Linked DNA regions of Homo sapiens: region 2 is linked to region 1. The links are contacts of gene promoters, found by promoter capture Hi-C in human tissues and cell types (Jung and others, 2019). All regions are on one chromosome and are shown on one strand. Each heading gives the region's core, a stretch centred on a gene start or on the middle of the fragment in contact. The rest is flanking DNA. Distances are from core to core; before and after follow the strand shown.

Region 1 (3,884 bases), core at 471-2,970:
AAAGGGTCTCACTATATTCACTATGCTGTTCTTGAACTCCTGGGCTCCACCTTCGCCTCCCAAAGTGCTGGGATTACAGGCATGAGCCACTGCACCCTGCTAGAACTTACATTTCTTAAGTTGTTGAAAAAAGCAAAATGAAAATAATATTTCATGATACATGAAAATTATGACATTCAAATTATAGTATCTATAAGTAAAGTATATAATTAAGTAAATAAATAAAACCATGCCGGGGTTGGGCTAGGTGGCTCACTCCTGTAATCCCAGCACTTTGGGAGGCTGAGGCGGGCAGATTGCCTGGGGTCAGGAGTTCTAGTCCAGCCTGGCCAACATGGTAAAACCCTGTTTCTACTAAAAGTACAAAAATTAGCTGGGCATGGTGGTAGGTGCCTGTGATCCCAACTACTCGTGAGGCTGAGGCAGGAGAATCACTTGAACTCCGGAGGCAAAGGTTGTAGTGAGCCGTGATCACACCACTGCACTCCAGCCTGGGCAACAGAGTGAGACTCCGTTTCAAAAAAAAAAAAAACCCATGCCCATTTGTATGTGTATTTTATGGCTGCTTTCCCATACAATGGCAGAGTTGAGTAGCTGCAACAGAGACTGTATGGTCCTCAAGGCCAAAAACATTTATTATCTGCCTCTTTAGAGAGAAAGTGTGCTTTCCTCTGCTTTAGACACTTTAACACAATTGTGGCTTGGAAGCTACAGAGACCTCCACAAAAGTTTGGTGGAAAAAATAATAAAACTAAACCATATTCAAGATGTTCTTTTACAACACAGACCATCTCTGGACATTTGAAGACAGTTGGGAAAAATGTTGCGACAACACCAAATTTAAGTCTAGAAGAAAATAAGTTAGACCAAATTCAAAGTATTCAAGGAAACAAGACCAAGAAATACTAAGAAAAATAACAGGCCGGGGGCAGTGGCTTGCACCTGTAGTCCCAGCATTTTGGGAGGTAGAGGGAGGAGGATCACTTGAGCCCAGGAGTTCAAGACCAGCCTGAGCAATCTAGTGAGACCTCGTCTCTACGAAAAATTTAAAAATTAGTCAGGTGTGGTGGTATGTGCCTGTAGTCCCAGCCACTTGGGAGGCTGAGGTGGAAGAATCGCTTGAGCCTAGGAGGATGAGGCTGCAGTGAGCCGTGATCACGTCGCTGCACTCCAGCCTGAGCGACAGAGCAAGACCCTGTCTCAAAAAATAAATAAATAAATAAAATTGTAAAATTAAAAAAGAAAAATCACTGTTCAGGGAGCTTGACTTAAAACATTACAGATGATAGTTGGATCAGATGACCTCTAATGTCCCTCCAACCCTGAAATTCTGTTTCTTCTAGTCTGTGAAGGTCTATGTTAGCACCTTAGTAATTCAAAGTGTGAATTTCTTAAAATGTGAATGCACCAATAAGAACACATCTCTTGCCAAGTAACAACCATGTTAGCTTTTTCTTCTCTTTTTTTCCAAATTTGCTTTGGAACAGAAAGAAAACCACAGATCTGAAGATTTCAACGAGACCTGTTAAGCCCCACAGACTTTGTCGCACCTGCTGTTACAAAATTGGAAAAAGCTAGAAACCCAGAGAGTCTCCTAGGAAACAAACTATGGATATTGGTCTTGCCTATCACAGGAGTGCTATTACAATATTCCCCAAGCTAAAGGTCTCACACATAAAAACTGACTCTGAGGGAAATAGAAGAAGTAGTAGAACACAGGAGAGACCAACCTTAACAGTTATCTTCAGTAAGAGCCACAGCTCCTCCCCCAGTTCATAAGGAAGCTGGAAGCAGATATCTCTACAAATAAGCAGGCAAATAATAAATTAAGTTTCCATAGTTTGACTCTTTACTTTGATCCAGCCAAAAGTAATTAGTTGGGTCTTCTGCCACGAGCTCTTCACAATAATTGCTGCTGACCTATGAGATATTCAAGATTCCTTAGGAATAGATTTGTATCCTTTCTCTCCGTCTGCAAGAAGAGTTTTTGATGGATGCTGACACCTTCAGGTGAGTTCCTCTTCTCAAAATAGCACCTGCCACTGTTCTAATCCCATTTTTCAGAGATAAATGTTAAGTCCAAACATTGTGTAAGGGGTTTCTCTACTCTGAGTCACTTCATCTCTCAATATTCTTACTTGTTTAGTTACTCAGTATAGTTCTTTTTCTGCTGTCACAAAAATTTTCTTTGCTGTTCTGCTCATATGACTATGTAACTACCATTTAGCCTTTTTATAAATAGTGGCTAATAGGCCAAGCATGTTGGCTCACACCTGTAATCCCAGCACTTTGGGATGCCAAGACGGGCGGATCACCTGAGGTCAGGAGTTCAAGACCAGCCTAACCAACATGGTAAAACCCCATCTCTACTAAAAATACAAAAATTAGCTGGGGGTGGTGGTACACGCCTGTAATCCCAGCTACTTGGGAGGCTGAGGCAGGAGAATCACTTGAACCTGAGAGATGGAGGTTGCAGTGAGCCAAGATGGCACAACTGCATTCCAGCCTGGGCAACAGAGAGAGACTCCATCTCAAAAATAAAAATTAAAATTAAAAAAATTAAAAAATTAAAAAATAGTGGCTAATATTGGATAACACTATTTCCCCCAGGCCTTTAATTGGCTAAATTTTTCTCCAAAGCTATTCTCCATTAAAAGTCCATTCACTGGTTTTAATACCAACCAGACTAGGAAGAGCATCTTCGAGTTCTGTGGTGGTGCCACCCTTGCTCTGTTCTTTTTGTCCTCACCAGGTCCCTTCCACCTATAAGACAAGTTCTCTGCCCAAAATTTGAAAAATGGACATGAGTAAAGCTATAACCTGATTTCTTTGTTGGCAAATATTTTAAACAGACAATTCTAACTCATTGCTAATAAGGGTTTTACATTTTAATAGAAATTGTCTCATGTCTCTCAATTTAATAACTCAAACTTTTCTCATATTATATATGTATATATTTGTTCCATTGTTATTCATCTTTAAATTATTTTCCATTTTATATGTCTTATTGTGAAATTTATTTTAAAAAGAAATTAATTATATTAGTTTTCCAAATATTTGAAATGCTTTTTATAAATAAAAAAGTGTGCTTTGAGTCGATTTTCAGAAAATAATAAAATTTTTAAAGTTTTCTTCATGGCCATTTGAAAGATGGGTTAGGGATACAGTTTGGGACCAGAATTAAGTAAAATTCATTTGCTGAAATGAGGTTAAGCCTGTGCCCTTCGCCTCATTAGAAAAGATGTCTAATCTCCTTGGTTGCTCAAAATTATACACTTTTATTTAGTTTGTGGTCCCCTAATATTTCTCATATATTTTTCAAACATTCATGTACTAGATGGTCTTTATTTTATTTTGTTTATTTATTATTTATTTATTTATTTTGAGATGGAGTTTCATTCTTGTTGCCCAGGCTGGAGTGCAATCGCACGATCTCAAGTCACTGCAACCTCTGCCTTCCGGGTTCAAGCTACTCTCCTGCCTCAGCCTCCTGTGTAGCTGGGATTACAGGCTCATACCACTATGCCCAGCTAATTTTTGTATTTTTAGTAGAGACGAGGTTTCACCATGTTGGCCACACTGGTCTCAAACTCCTGACATCAGGTGATCCACCAGCCTTGGCCTCCCAAAGTGTTAGGATTACGGGCATGAGCCACCGCGACCGGCCTCTAGATGGTCTTTAATATTTGATATCAGATGAGAATTCAAAAACACATTTAATCAATATATTCAAAGACTAAGTATCTGTGAAATAAAAACACTACTAAGCCTTCAGGCTTTTTTCTTTTTTTTTGAGTTGGAGTTTTGCTCTTGTTGCCCAGACTGGAACGCAATGGTGTGCTCTCAGTTCACTGTAATCTCAGCCTCCCAGGTTCCAGCGATTC
Region 2 (3,959 bases), core at 1,366-3,865, 320 kb after region 1:
CTTCGCAGCTTAGTGAGGGAGACACATGAATGAAATAATGTCCATATATGATGAGAGGTAAACACATATCCTATAGAAGCATGCCAAAATAAGCTGGGGGCGTTGGTACCTGCCTGTAAGCCTGTAGTCACAACTAATTGGAAGGCTGAGGCAGGAGGGTCCCTTGGCCCAGGATTTGAGAGACTGTAGTGTGTGATGTGATTATCCACTGCACTCCAGGCTGGGCAACATAATGAGACCCCATCTTTTTTTTTTTTTTTTTTTTTGAGACAGTCTCGCTCTGTTTCCCAGGCTGGAGTGCAGTGGTGCCATCTTGGGTCACTGCAACCTCCACCTCCCGGGTTCAAGCGATTCTCCTGCCTCAGCCTCCCGAGTAGCTGAGACTACAGGCACGGACCACCATGCACGGCTAATTTCTGTATTTTTAGTAGTGACGAGGTTTCACCATGTTGGCCAGGCTGGTCTCAAACTCCTGATCTCATGGTCTGCCCGCCTCGGCCTCCCAAAGTGCTGGAATTACAGGCATGAGCCACTGCACCTGGCCTTAAATTTTTCTATTTTTAGTAGAGACAGGGTTCAGTAGAGATGCCATGTTGGCCAGGATGGTCTCAAGTTCCTGACCTCAGGTGATCCACCCGCCTCAGCCTCCTGAAGTTTTGGGATCACAGGTGTGAGCTGCCGCACCCAGCGAGACCCCATCTCTTTTTAAAAAAAGAAAGCATGCAGAAATGGTTACCTAACTAACCCTGAGAGGTCAGGGAATCCTTTTTTTATTATTTTTATTTATAACTTTAAATTTATAAATTTATTCCTTCTACCTTAATCACATAAAGGGATTTTTTTTTTTTTTTTTTTTTAAATAAGACGGAGTCTCGCTCTGTCACCTAGACTGGAGTGCAGTGGTGTGATCTTGGCTCACCACAACCTCTGCCTCCTGGTTTCAAGCAGTTCTCTGTCTCAGCCTCCCGAGTACCTGGGATTACAGGCACCTGCTACTATGCCCGGCTAATTTTTTTTTTTTTTTTTTGAGATGGAGTCTTGTTCTGTTGCCCAGGCTGGAGTGCAGTGGCACGATCTCGGCTCACTGCAAGCTCTGCCTCCCAGGTTCACGCCATTCTCCTGCCTCAGCCTCCCAAGTAGCTGGGACTACAGGCGCCCGCCACTACGCCCGGCTAATTTTTTTGTATGTTTAGTAGAGACGGGGTTTCACCGTTTTAGCCGGGATGGTCTCGATCTCCTGACCTCGTGATCCGCCCGCCTCGGCCTCCCAAAGTGCTGGGATTACAGGCGTGAGCCACCGCGCCCGGCCCACCTGACTATTTTTTATTGTTTTTTTTTTTTTTTGGTGGAGACAGGTCTCATTTTGTTTCCCAGGCTGGTCTCAAAAACTCCTGGAAGATTTTAATTTTTAGGAATGTCTTTCTAATAACAGTATGGAAATGGTGTAGAGGAAATGAGATTGGAAGTAGGAGATTAATAAAGGAGATATTAAAATCCAAGAAAGAATAACGACCTGGCTTGGACAAAGGTAATGCTATGAGATTAGAGATTAGGAGGTAAAATTAGGAGCATCTCAGGATGGATGTGATAAGGTGGACAAGAACACAGATTTGGCATGATTGCTGGTTTCTAGCTTCTGGGATAGGGATAGATATTGGGGAATGAATGAAGGGAGCAGATTATAGTTTGAGGGTGGGAAAAAGAATATTTTAAACATCTTGGAGGTATTCAAGGAACATTCAAGTATAAGATGTTTTATTAAGTATCTGAGTACTATTTGAAAATCATTAGGTTTGGGCATATAGGGATGAACAAAACATGTCCCCTGCCCTCTTAGATATTATAGATCATTGAGGGAAGAAACAAAGTAAATGGCACTTTTCACAGTAAGGATCGATGAAGGAAAAGAAGAGCGTGGATGAGAAGATGGCAAGGGAACCAAAATTAGAACATGGAATTTGGGGGATGCTGCCAGGGAAGCTTAGCTACGTGGAAGTAGCTAATGGTGAAGCTCATTCTGTAAGAAAACCATATGTGAAAGCACAGATAATGAGGGGGAACAAGACTTGGCCTCCAAGTAAGAAATAATACTGGAAAATAATTACCAAGAATACATAGATGAGGGATGGAGTTAGAGAGGTAGGCAAGGACCAAACATTTCATAGCACGGGACCTTAGAGGGTCTTGTTTAAGATCCTGTCTTGGGCACAAGTAGAATCTATTGAAGGATTTTGAAGAAGAGGTCTGGTTTATCTTCTGTTGTGTAGGGAATATTAGTGATGAGAACTAAGAGGGCAAGTAGGGCAGTAAGTTTGGAGACCTATTAGAGTAGGCCACTGTCTCAATCTCTTGAAGAAAATAATCATCCCAAGCCTAACAATAACTTGCCCTGGTTTTTCAAATGAGTTTTTATTGGGTGTATTAATGAGCAAAATCAGTCTGAGTAAGATAGGTTGAGAACTGATGAGGCTCCAGGAAATTACTAATTATTTCTGATACCTTGTTGGGTCATATAATGGCTTTCTGATTTGGCAGAAAAAAGTAGCAGGACATTAATTTATGGAAGTATTCTAAACACTTGACTATGTCCAACACTGTTAAAGTTGTGAGTTTGTGTTAACTTAATCATCATCAAAACCTTGAGTAGGAGTAGATACTGTTATTCATGTTTTAGAGGTGAGAATATTGGAGTACAGAATTTAAATAACTTGCCTAAAGTTAAACTGCTTTAGTGGTTTAGCATGGATTCAACCCTGGGATTAAGGGTGCAGATTTCAACACTTAATGATAGTAGACTCCTTTCGTCACTTTGATATGTTGAACTTTTTTTTTTTTTTGAGACATAGTCTCGCTCTGTCACCAGGCTGGAGTGCAGTGGCATGATCTCTGGCTCACTGCAACCTCCGCCTCCTGGGTTCAAGCGATTCTTGTGCCTCCGCCTCCTGAGTAGCTGGGATTGCAGGCATGCACCACCACACCCAGCTAATTTTTATATTTTAGTAGAGATGGGGTTTCACCATGTTGGCCAGGCTGGTCTAGAAATCCTGACCTCGTGATCCGCCCACCTCGATTTCCCAAAGTGCTGGGATTACAGGCGTGAGCCACTGTGTCCGGCTGAGCATTCTAGAAAAACAGATTTTAGTTTGGTTAAAGTTCCAAAGAACAACTTTGGACTTTTATTATTAAAATTTTAAAACTAAATATGTTTATATTTTTGCCCTTGATTTCCCAACACCTTAAATGGCTTAAAGATGTGTATATGTGCAAGGTAGTTAATGTTTAGGTAGATGTATCTTGGTAAAATGTTACCATGGTTGTGATGGCATTGTTAATAGGGAAGCAAGCACATTTTAAAAGTGAGCTTTAGGCCAGTTGCAGCAGTTTATGCCTATAATCCCAGCACTTTGGGAGGCTGAAGTTGGAGGATAGCTTAAGGCCAGGAAAGTCTGGCAACATAGCAAGAGCCTGTCTACAAAAAGCTGGGCACGGTGGCACACAGCTGTAGTGTAGCTCCCTGGGAGGCTGAGGCGGTAGAATTAATTGAGTTCAGGAGTTTGAGGTCAGTGTGAGTTATGATTGCGCCACTGTACTCCAGCCTGGGTGACAAGAGTGAGACCCTATCTCTTAAAGTAAAAAAACAAAAGTGAGCTATCTTTTTTTTTTTTCTAAGACTTATAAAACCGAAGTGAACTTCAGTTAGAAAAAAATTATTTGTGGTTAAAAAAGAACCACGGAGACGGATGCATTAACTAAGCCCAGGGGTCCTTTTTCAATCCTCATCTCACTTGACCTGTTGGTTCCATTTAACCAGATCTCTTCCTTGAAACGTTTTTATTTTTTTTTTACTTTGCTTCCAGGTTTTTGTTACATGTTTCTGTTACATGTTAAACTTCTTTCTGTTGGAGTGCCCCATGGTTCAGTCCTTCCACTTCTCTTTTCTGTCCACACTCTGGGTCCAA

The links. The method cuts DNA at HindIII sites, captures the fragments that hold promoters and counts their contacts. A contact is called where the count stands out against the background at its distance.
Region 2: a contact is called between a fragment that was not itself captured here and the fragment with the promoter of OR10G3 in region 1, in 2 of the 25 tissues and cell types used here (aorta and lymphoblastoid cells).

The regions. Positions count from the first base shown.
Region 1 is chr14:21,577,912-21,581,795 of GRCh38, reverse strand. OR10G3 (olfactory receptor family 10 subfamily G member 3) reads left to right here and starts at 1,720. Exons shown (of 2, transcript NM_001005465.2): 1 at 1,720-2,010. The HindIII fragment of the contact is 16,961 bases long and covers 1,514-3,884 here.
Region 2 is chr14:21,257,268-21,261,226 of GRCh38, reverse strand. The region is part of intron 2 of HNRNPC (heterogeneous nuclear ribonucleoprotein C); the gene reads left to right. Among named protein-coding and RNA genes, the nearest start is that of HNRNPC, 10 kb to the left of the region's middle. The HindIII fragment of the contact is 7,394 bases long and covers 1-3,959 here.